Linked DNA regions of Homo sapiens: all the other regions are linked to region 2. Evidence: promoter capture Hi-C in 16 types of primary human blood cells and fetal thymus (Javierre and others, 2016). All regions are on one chromosome and are shown on one strand. Each heading gives the region's core, a stretch centred on a gene start or on the middle of the fragment in contact. The rest is flanking DNA. Distances are from core to core; before and after follow the strand shown.

Evidence for each region. The method cuts DNA at HindIII sites, captures the fragments that hold promoters and counts their contacts. A CHiCAGO score of 5 or more calls a contact.
Region 1: a fragment that was not itself captured here is called in contact with the fragment with the promoter of ALS2 in region 2 in 1 of 17 cell types (naive B cells); the score reaches 5.2 in naive B cells.
Region 3: a fragment that was not itself captured here is called in contact with the fragment with the promoter of ALS2 in region 2 in 2 of 17 cell types (erythroblasts and fetal thymus); the score reaches 7.6 in erythroblasts.

The regions. Positions count from the first base shown.
Region 1 is chr2:201,453,115-201,456,794 of GRCh38, reverse strand. It overlaps STRADB (STE20 related adaptor beta), which reads right to left. Exons shown (of 12, transcript NM_018571.6): 2 at 1,943-2,049. The coding sequence starts at 1,954. Among named protein-coding and RNA genes, the nearest start is that of STRADB, 3.2 kb to the right of the region's middle. The HindIII fragment of the contact is 3,133 bases long and covers 792-3,680 here.
Region 2 is chr2:201,779,465-201,783,192 of GRCh38, reverse strand. ALS2 (alsin Rho guanine nucleotide exchange factor ALS2) reads left to right here and starts at 2,260. Exons shown (of 34, transcript NM_020919.4): 1 at 2,260-2,316. RefSeq lists enhancers at 1,901-1,970, 1,981-2,210, 2,221-2,290 and a silencer at 2,421-2,590. The HindIII fragment of the contact is 4,023 bases long and covers 293-3,728 here.
Region 3 is chr2:202,234,681-202,238,222 of GRCh38, reverse strand. All of the region lies in intron 1 of SUMO1 (small ubiquitin like modifier 1), which reads left to right. Among named protein-coding and RNA genes, the nearest start is that of SUMO1, 2.1 kb to the left of the region's middle. RefSeq lists a silencer at 1-161. The HindIII fragment of the contact is 685 bases long and covers 1,336-2,020 here.

The sequences.
Region 1 (3,680 bases), core at 1,109-3,608, 330 kb after region 2:
TTTGAATATAATTTCTTTATCCATTATCATAATAGCCAAGTAAAAAGTAGTTAGACCTTACAAAGAAACTGAAAGAAGATATTTTTACATATGCTGCTCCTTTGAAAACAGCATTTCTTAGTTCTCAAATAGAGGGTAAAACTTGAATGGGGAGGAATCCTTAAGTAAAAGTATCAACTTTATCCCAACTGCACAAATTTCTCGTTTAAGGAAAAAAAGTAAATATTTCGATTCAAAGAATTTAAAATATTTCACCATTGCAGAAAAATGTGATTTAAAGTTACAATCATTAACGATATAAATCACCCATTATCACATTCTATTATTTTTCACAAAACCCATAATTATGGAATAATAGGCTAAGATATTCTTTTTCCAAAATTTGAAAGCCCTGGGCAACACACAGCCCTTTGAATCTCACAATTCTCGCCTATCAAATGAAGGGAATAGACTGAATGCCCTTTCACATCTTTTCCAACTTAAAAATTGATATAAAATTGTAAATCTTAAGTAATCCTTTAGAGTAAGGGTCGGCAAACTATGGTCCATGAGCCAAATCTGACCCACCACCTGTTTTTGTGAGTAAAGTTTTACTGGAACACAGATACATTCATTCATTCATTTATATATTGCCTATGGCTGCTTTCATGCTAGTATTTCAGCAGAAAAGTAGCTGTAACAAAGACCAAAGGGTCTGTAAATACTATCTGGCCTTTACAGAAAAGCTTGCTGATCCCTCCTTTACAGAATAAAACATTTCACCTCCGTGTATTTTCCAGATATATAAAGCTTCTCTTTCAAGTGGTAATGCTTTACTTTAAACATGTAAGTAACTGTGTTATGTATTTTCCATATTACTAACAATCCAGTCTTCTAACTTCATAGTTCTGCCTCTCAGCCTTGGTAATTGATAGAATAGATTGGCAGGTATGAGTCTGGCTCCAACTTTTTGCAATCTTGGACAAACTGAAAATGAGGATAATGCCACCTGCCCTGCTAAACTTACACAATTTGAAACTATGAAAGAAATATATGAAAGTATTTGTAAACTATAAATCATCATACAAATATACTCATCCTTTTTTTTTTTTGAGACAGGATCTCCCTCTATCACCCAGGCTGGAATGCAATGGCATGATCACAGTTCACTGCAGCCTTGATCCCTTGTTCAAGGGATCCTCCCACCTTAACCCTCTGAGTAGCTGAGACTACAGGCATATGACACTACGTCTGGCTAATATTTTATACAGACAGGATCTCACTATGTTGCCTAGGCTGGTGTTGAACTCCTGGGTTCAACTGATTCTCTAGCCTTGGCCCCTAAAAATGCTGGGATTACAGGTGTGAGCCACTACACGTGGTCTACTCATTACTTTTTTAAAAACCACATTTTAATATAAGTATTCCCTATTCAAATATTATTATTATGTATAAAACAGGATGAAAGTCCTCAAGCTACTTAATCTAAAGTAGATACCACGGATCTAAATATAAATAGAAAACCAGTTGGCAGCTATACCTCATATATACATTGATCCAAATGATTTTATTTCGGTTAAGTCAAAGGGGTTATTTTTAATACTGTTTGGCTTGCTTTTGGTCAGATGGAAATTTGTAAAAGGAATTTCTGAAAGATTTAAAAGATAAGGCATAGCTAACTGGTGTGGGTGGCATATCAAAGTATAACACCTATGAGAAAAAGTAGATATGGGACAAAAGATTAGAATAATGAACATATTGAAGTATACGAGAAGTTCTTTATGAAAGAAAGAAAAACTCAATGAGAATGTAATTCATTTCTCAAGTCCAGAAGTCAATCAGGTCAAAACAATATCTCAGAGCATAAGAATATCCCATCAGAATATGCCTTTTATTATGGCTTGGCATTAACATCCAACTACTCTGACAGAACAAAATCAGATCTATATTTACAAAAACTTACCAAAAGAGACATTGAATCACTTTAGTTCACACAGAAAGTGACAAAAATCCATCTATTCCAAAGAAGGCTTTTGTTTTATCTTCCTTTCAAGATGCAGATATATCCTACTATAAAAAACAAAAGCAAAATAATTTAGATTCACATAAAAGTTCCTTAAAGAACCAGTTGCCTTAAACCCATCCAATATTTAGGCAGCTATTCCCTGATACCCAATATTTAGGCAGCTACTCCTTGACACAAGGAGACATTCCTGAAAAGTATCTTTAAAGAGCATTTATTTTTTACTGAACATTATTTGTGATCTGACATCACAACCAAGAAGCAGAGTGAAAACAAAAAGAAGTCCTGAATATTTCCAAAGCCTCAATATGTTTGCATTTCTCCTTCCCTATCTTTTCTATACTGTTTTTTGTTTGTTTTTTAAAGAACGCTGAGCAAATTTGAAAGCAATGTAGAAAACCAATTTTTGGCCCACTTTTGATATAAACAGTGTCACTTACAATAAACCCCAAGAATTTTCAATGGTTCCACATATTACAACTAAACTTTGAGACTTTCCAAAGCCCTTTCTTATTGGATTAATTACGTATTAAATCATTTGGGGTCCCTGACCAGCAAATATGGGAAAGAATCAGAATAACAGACTAGGAAATTAATTCAAGGAGATACAAAAGCACCATCCACGGTTTCCAGACCTTTACTAATAGAAAGGGTGGCAATCTTGTAAGTTTGTGGGTTCAGAGCATCCCTTTACATCTAACCAACATCATCTCTTTCATCTAAATTGTGCTTCATTATTTCAACTCCCCAAATTTGATGAACCCATCTACAAATATGTGAGCAGGATGAGAAAGGGAAGATTTTGTAAACCATAAAAACCATAAAGCAATATCCAATTTTATTGCTAAAGAAAGAGGTGAATTTATTCAGGATGTTCACTATGAACCAAAGGTAGAGATTGGGAGGAAGACGGACCTGAAAGGCTGTGATCATTTAGCCACCTACCATTCATTACCGTCAATTTAAAGCACTGGAGTTTGCTGTGCTGCAAAAGGAGGAAAGCAATGCCTGCCCTGCCAACCTTCCAGGGTGAATGAAATCAAATGAGTTACATCTCAAAGTGCCCCTAATTAGCAAACACTGTATCAGCTTGAACTATGCTTTGAAAGGTACACTCAAATGTACTGATGGCAGTACAAAACTATAAGGTTTATTTGGAAAGCAGGTTGTCAAATGTTTCAATAACCATGAAAATATTCATACTTTTTGACCCAGTAAAATTCCCCGGAGTGATCTATTCTAAGGAGATATCCAAGTAAATGAAGAAACTACACATCATAGTCAATACACTGTTAATCTGTTAACAGCCAAGTAATCATTACACAAGTGTTTAATGAGTGGTTACCATGGGTCAGGCACTGTGGACACCCGCTGGTAATCAGGGCAGACAAGACCCTGGCCACTTGTAGCTGACCTTCCCACAAGCAGAAGGGTTATGGATGTCATGATTAACCAAATTTTCTGGTTATCATGATTTTGTATCCTGCTTTTTTCACTCAATGTCAGCAAGTTGTTACTGATTTTGTCTTAATAATGTGAAACTCCATTACGTTGTCTATTTTTTTCTCTTTTTCAGAAAAGCTCAGAAGAAACAGACACAATCTGGTAAGAATTGTTAGTAATAAAAGGGTTGTCCCTATGGGGTGGTTTAATCTCAGAGATTTTTGCCTTAGATACA
Region 2 (3,728 bases), core at 1,011-3,510:
GAAGAAAATAAAAATATTTTACCCCAAAATATATTTCTTTGACATATTTTGAAATGACCCTGCAAAGCTGTCTCTTGTGGGGGGAATTTGCATTTTATACAGAATCACTTTCCTTTTTCAGGTCTTTTCTTGATCCAGGAGAGATTTAACCAAGAGTCTGACACATTTTAAGGTCCTATAACATATGCTACCTGGAAGCTTCATCTACGTAACAAGAACCTTGGCTTCTATAACCCCCTTCATTTTAACTCAAATATTTCTTTCTGCTAACTTCAACTCTTTAGGAAAAGCTTAGCTTTTTCAACCCATCATAAAGTCTCTGAATCCACCTATAATCTGTGAGCACCACCGGCCCCCCATGTATTGATCTATGTCTTTGCCTATAACTTCTGTCTCTCTAAAATGTATAAAACCAAGCTATAACCCAACCACCCTGGGCACATGTTCTCAGGACTTCTTGAGGCTGTGTCCCAGGCCATGGTTACTCATGTTTCGATCAGAGTATATTTAACCTCTTCAAATATTTTATAAAGTTTGTCTTTTTTCATCAACAGAACAAAGTCTTTCCTTTGGGGAGATTAGGGATCCTGAGTTCAGGATCTTCTAAGAAGAAAGAGGGAGAAGAAAAGGACTCGGTGAAAAGGAGCCGGGGCTCGGTGGCTCGCGCCTGTAATCCTAGCACCTTGGGAGGCTGAGGCACGTGGATCAATTGAGGTCAGGAGTTCGAGACCAGGCTGGCCAACATGGTGAAATCCCATCTCTACTACAAACACAAAAATTAGCCGGGCGTAGTGGCGGGCACCTGTAATCCCAGCTATTTGGGAGGCTGAGGCAGGAGAATCGCTTGAACCTGGGAGGCGGAGGTTGCAGTGAGCCGAGATCGCGCCACTGCACTCCAGCCTGGGCGACAGATCGAGACTCCCTCTAAACAAAACAAAACAAATCAAAACTGGTTGCAGGTAGGTTTTGTGGTAGTGGCTGATGGGATTTGGGATTTAAGGAAATTCACCTCTAGTGGTCTCACTTTCCTCAGAGATGTAAGAGACAAAATTTTTTATTTTTATTTTTACCAAAGCGGGTGAGTGAGTAGAGTTCAGTAAGAGGTTAGAAGAGCGTGAGGGCTGGGAACAGCAGGGGAGGGGAATAGGAGATAATCTGAGTAGCAATGTGTAAATGTGACTGTCTTAGGCTCAGCAATATTGCGTAGTCGCACGTGGAAGTCCCGACTGAAGTTGGACACTTTTCGTTCGCAGTGGTGCCAATTCTCAGGGTTGTGTGATTTTCTGCACCGATGCAGGAGTGAGCAAGGTTGGTTGAACTGTTGCAGACTAACAGTTTTGCAGGTGGGCGAAGGATCAGGGAGGAAATTGAGTTGAGGGTGTTGGTGAATAGGATATAGGAGTTTCAGAACCCGACTACACATCTGTCGTTGATGGTCTAAATATTTGCATGTTTGCAGGTCCAGCGATGGCACAATGCCTAGCAGCAGAAGGTTTGCACCCACTGTGCGACATGAGTGGCAGCTCTGGAAAATCATAAAATCATGGGAGGACTTGAGAGTGCAGGCTGGGTGGGGTGGGACTGTGGCTGCGAAAAACAGTGTTATGAAACTGTGCGCGGGACAAGAAAGCTGATTTTACTGATTGTATATTGGGGAGTACTACGGGAATCACTGGAGAGGCCACTTCATTTTCTCCTATCCCACCCCATCTTTTGGGGTTGCAACTAACCAGTAAGTTTACACATTGAGGATACAATGGCGAAACGGGGCCGCGAGGCGATGACGTCATTCGCGGGAGTAGGGGGGAGAAGCGACCACTGTTAGGGTACTGTCCATAAAGGCAATTTGAAAATATTTCAGCCTTTTTACTTTTATACTTCCGGCCCTTGCAGTTTGAGGTGGTAACAAACGACTGCTGCTCCCAACCACTTTCACCACCGCCTGTTACCATGGGAGCGCTCGGGTAGCTAGGCTTGGACGACTCTATTCTACGTCATCATCAAAGCGCATCTCAGGACTGATAGCTCCGCCCTAAACTAAGGGAGAGACTGTGCTCCCAAGTACGTAGCCTGCAGTGCCTAACGCATTCTCAGCAATTTTGACCCCCAACAGACGCCGTCGACAGTCTCCCAAGAACAATTCCCAGGAGCTCGGATTCCAAGAGCCGCCCGCGCCCTCGTTTACCTTCGCTAGTCGCCCTGCAGCCCCGCCCTGTCCGGAGGCCCCGCCCTCCATGAATCAGCTGATCCCGCGGACCCACTGGGTTGCCAAGCTCGCGCCGGATGCGGAGCGCGGTGCTGCCGGTGGAGCTTCAGGTGAGCGAGTGTGGGTCCCGGGTTGGCTATTGGCTAAGGAGGGCTTATCGGCTGGGACCCCTTGTATGCGGAAGGCCGGGGACAGGGAGCTAGGCGGAGGCTGTGGTCGAGGCCGGAGAGCGCCCTGCGGGGGGCCTGCGGAGACGGCGCCCGCATTTTCCCAGCTCTGGGTGCGATCGACTGCTCCTGCCGGTCCAGCAGCGCCCGAGGCGGCCCCTGCCTTGGCCCCAGGTTCTCCCACTTGCCCCGGTCTCTCCCTCCCCAGACTGGGCGCCGCTGCAGTGGTCTCAGCTGCGTGAAATTCCTTCAAGCCCCCTCTTCCCGCCTCCACCCACGCTGCCTTCCAGCTATTCATTCACGAGAATTTCTTGAATGCCCACACTAGGCGCTGAGCTGATAAACTGGGGTCCGTGGCCTGGAACCCTGCTGAGTGTCCCTGGCGGCCTTGCCACAGGGTGCAAATCGCGTTGAAGAGTGGACCAAGGGCTACTTGAAAAGGCGGTTGCGGAGAAAGAAAATAGCTTTGATAATAAGAATTAGTAGTTTAGGCAAGTCTTTGAGCCTATCAAGTAATTCATCAAGAGGAGAAGATAAGTTATTTTGAGAAGCGAAGCCAGAAAAATAACACAGGTCCTTGACGCTGGTGTTCGTCCTCGGATAATAGGGCTGCTTTGGAGACAGGCAACAGTAGACTGGTAGAATCGTTCTATTGCTTAAGGCTTTGATGGTGGAAGAGAAAAAACACTCTTGTTGAAGTGGCATATCCAAGAACAGTGCTTTCTTTCTGGTTTAGGATGGAGAAGGAACTGACTGCTGTACCCAAGTGAAGATCTTTACTCAGTTACCCTTATATTTGGCTATATGGAATAAAATTGTGTGATATGTTTATTCTGAGCAGGTACAAAACTTCAGCAAACCTATTGGTCCCACATTTTCCCCCCCATTTATCATATGATTTGGAGTGACCGGTTGACCTTTGAGTTAATGAATAATTTAAAGCAGTGAAAAATTTTTTGCAGTAAACTACGGTGTTTTAACCTTGATAACATAAGCATAGTGGTTAAGATTCTAGGCTTTGTATCTGAACATACCCAGAGTCACATCCATTTACATCTTTGATTTTGGGCAAGTTATTTAATCTCTCTGCCTCAGTTCTCTTGTCTCTAAATTGGGGATAAAAATGTTTTCCTGATAACAGTACCTTTACGTGTAATGGTTCATGTATCGTATTTATTACAGTGCCTGTTTTATGGTAAATATTCAATACATATTAGCTGTTTTTATAATTAATTCCTCCCACTACATCATGATCCAAACTGACTCTTTTCTTAAGTGATGGGGAAGGGAACTGAATATTTTAAGGAAGTAGCTATAAAATATGATTTCAAGTTGTTCTGTAGTAATTTTGGTGT
Region 3 (3,542 bases), core at 429-2,928, 460 kb before region 2:
GGGCTCGCTCATCACCCCCGTACCCCACCGCCTTTGGTGGCGGCCTCCCTCATGTCGTCCCACTTCTTTCTCCCGGGTCGACTAGGTGCAGAGCCCCGCTTCCACCTCCCTGGGAGGGTCTCTGGAGAACCCGTCCGTCTCCTTCCAGAGGACTAATCGCAGAAGCAGGGCCCTAGGCCTTAGTTATGTAACGGGAGAGAATCCCTGACTGGGAGGCTCCGTGGCCCTGAGAAGCGGCTGGACTCTCCACTTTTTGCTTCTTCGTCGGGAGGGCGTGGGGCGGCGAGGGAGGGAGACGTCCGATGTTGTTGGGAATCCTGCCTCCGTTCGGATTGGAGCTAGGGCAAGGATGCCGCTGCTCTCCTCTGAGTCTTTTTCCGTGTGGGGGTGCAGAGCTGTCGCCTCTTTACTGTACTTTCCCGTTTCTTACTCGGGATTGGTTCATCCTAGCTCTCCAGTTGTAAGAGAGCATTCATAATAACCAAGAAAGAAAATAGAACTAAACTGCTAGAGCAACAAAAAGCATCTCACCTGGGCATTAACCTGAGGAAGTCTCATATTTTTGAGGAAAAGCATAGGAAAACTTTGTGTATGTAGAGTCGTTGCAGAATATTTGCAGAAAGTTGCCTGGTAAGGCAAAGTGCTCCAGCTCACTGTTAGTATCAATAATTTACTTGGGATTTGCACTTAATCAGGAGTGATCGATTTCCCCTTTTCTTCCTCATCCTGTTCTAATTAAACAACTTTATGGCTAGTTTTTAATTCATAAAGTTTTTGTCTGGTCTTTTGTTTGCTCAGACGACTTTGACTTTTTTTTTTTTTTGAGACGGAGTCTCGCTGTGTCGCCAGGCTGGAGTGCAGTGGTGCGATCTCCACTCACTGCACCCTCCCGCCTCCTGGGTTCAAGCAATTTTCGGGCCTCAGCCTCCCGAGTAGCTGGGATTACAGGCACTCACCACCAGGCACTCACCACCACACCTAGCTAATTTTTGTATTTTTAGTAGAGACGGGGTTTCACCATATTGGCCAGGCTGGTCTCGATCTCCTTACCTCGTGATCCGCCCACCTCGGCCTCCCAAAGTGCTGGGATTACGGGCGTGAGCCACCGCGCCCAGCCGACTTTGACTTTTTACATTATTTTTGGACTTTTACTCATTTAATGGTAGTTATTCAGAAAACTATTTTTCATTCAACTCCACGATGTACTTGAACTTTTAAATTTAACACACCTATTCCCTTGGCTTTTAACCCAGTTTTGTACCATTTCGTGAGAGCAAGTGAGGTTTTTGCAGATTGGTACTATTGTACAAAATGTACACTTAACATTTTAAAGCTTAACCATAATCTAGATGAATTTTGGATGGATCTACTTACTAATAATCTAGATTAATTCCCAAGTGGGCATTGTGTTTCCCTAGGTAGTTGTTTACTTGGTTACTAGGAAGAAAAGTATAGGCGTAAATGCTTAGTTTCGTCAGCCTTTTATTTTGTTTCCCAGAAGCGTCTAGGAAGCATTTTGAAATTTATTGTAGACTGATGGAAGAGCAACATAAAGAAATAATTATAAAATGTAGAATTTATTGCTCCATTTTGAAGTCAGGTTATTTAAGAGATACATAAAGAAATGAAGGACCTAGGATACAAATAGATTCTTTTATTTCATGTTCATACTAGGACATTATTTGTCTTTTTCACTGTCATTCTTTCATGAGTGTTCAATGGACGTTTCTAGAAACTAACATGACTTGTGATAAAACAAATTAAATGTGGAAGCAGATGTGAAAATCCAGCTGTTTAGCTGTTTTTATTAAGCCAGACATTAAAGAGATTTGCAAAAATGTGTAACAGTCCCACTCTTTCATTAATTTTGTTTTGAAAAATATTTTTAATAAAAATATATATTTGTTAACATATAACAGGTTTGTTGGTATTTTAAAATGAATTAATATTTAAGACATTTCTCAGTTTTCAGTGTTTAATACTGTAAACATCAATAGATGTAACCAACCTAACAAAAGCTTTATGGGATTCTAAATAAATTTAAGTGTAAGATTCCTGAGAACAAAAAGTTTGAGAACTGTTGCTGTAGGCTGATTGACCAACATCATTAGGACTCGCCGGGTGCAGTGGCTTAAGCCTGTAATCCCAGCACTTTGGGAGGTCAAGTTGGGTGGATCACGAGGTCAGGAGTTCTAGACCAGCCTGACTAACATGGTGAAACCCCGTCTCTACTAAAAATACAAAAAATAGCCAGGCGTGGTGGTGCGCACCTGTAATCCCAGCTACTCAGAAGGCTGAGGCAGGAGAACTGCTTAAACCCGGGAGGCGGAGGTTGCAGTAACTGGAGATCACTCCACTGCACTCCAGCCTGGGCGACAGAGTGAGACTCCGTTTAAAAAAAAAAAAAAGACTCAGTACATTGGCCGGGTGCAGCGCCTCACACCTGTAATCCTGGCACTTTGGGAGGCCTAAGTGGGGGAGGATTGCTTGAGCCCAGTTTGAGACCAGCCTGGGCAATATAGAGAGACGTCGTCTCTACAAAAAATAAAATTAGCCAGGCATGATGGCCTGTACCTGTAGTCCCAGCTACTCAGGAGGTTGATATGGGAGGATCACCTGAGCCTGCGAGGTCGAGGTTGCAGCAAGCCAAGATCATGCCACTGTACTTCAGCCTGGGCGATAGAGACCCTGACTCAAAACAAAGAAGACCCAGTACAAGTTCAGTGTTGAGTGCTAAAGACTTAAAAGAGTTATAAAGCTGAACCCTTAATCTTAAGAGGTTTATAAGTGAGAACAAGAATCTCCAAATCCTGTACTGTTTAATATCAGCATGAGACTAAACCACTGTCCTAAGAAGACAACCTTAATTTGAATCAAGTTATTTTAGAGTGATGTGTTTTCTGAGGCAGCTCTCAGAAGGTTATTGTCTGGTGTTAAAATAGTGAAATTGAGTAATAACAAGGTTAAAATCGGTGGACATTAAATACACACAAGACTTCAATTGCTGGGTCCTCCATTGATTAATGAAAAAATGATTGTTTTTGGAATTTGAGTGAAACACTTCTTAATGGCTGAGTAGGGTGGCTTACGCCTGTAATCCCACCACTTTGGGATCACTTGAGGCCAGGACTTTGAGACCAGCTTGGCCAACATGAGGAAAGCACGTCTTTACTAAAAATACAAAAATTAGCTGGGCCTGGTGGCTCATGCCTGTAATCCCAGCTACTTGGGAGTCTGAGGCGAGAGGATCGCTTGAGCTTGGGAGGTGGAGGTTGCAGTGAGCGGAGATCATGCCACTGCATTCCAGCCTGGGCGACAGAGCAAGACTCTGTCCCAAAAAAAAAAAAAAAAAAAAAAGAAAAGGAAAAAAAACAAAAAACTTTTTTTTTTTTTTTTTTTTGAGACGGAGTCACAAAAAATTAGCCACCATGCCCAGCTAATTTTTTTGTATTTTTGGTAGAGACAGGGTTTCACCATATTGGCCAGGCTGTCTCGAACTCCTGACCTTGTGATCCGCCCGCCTCGGCCTCCCAAAGTGCTGG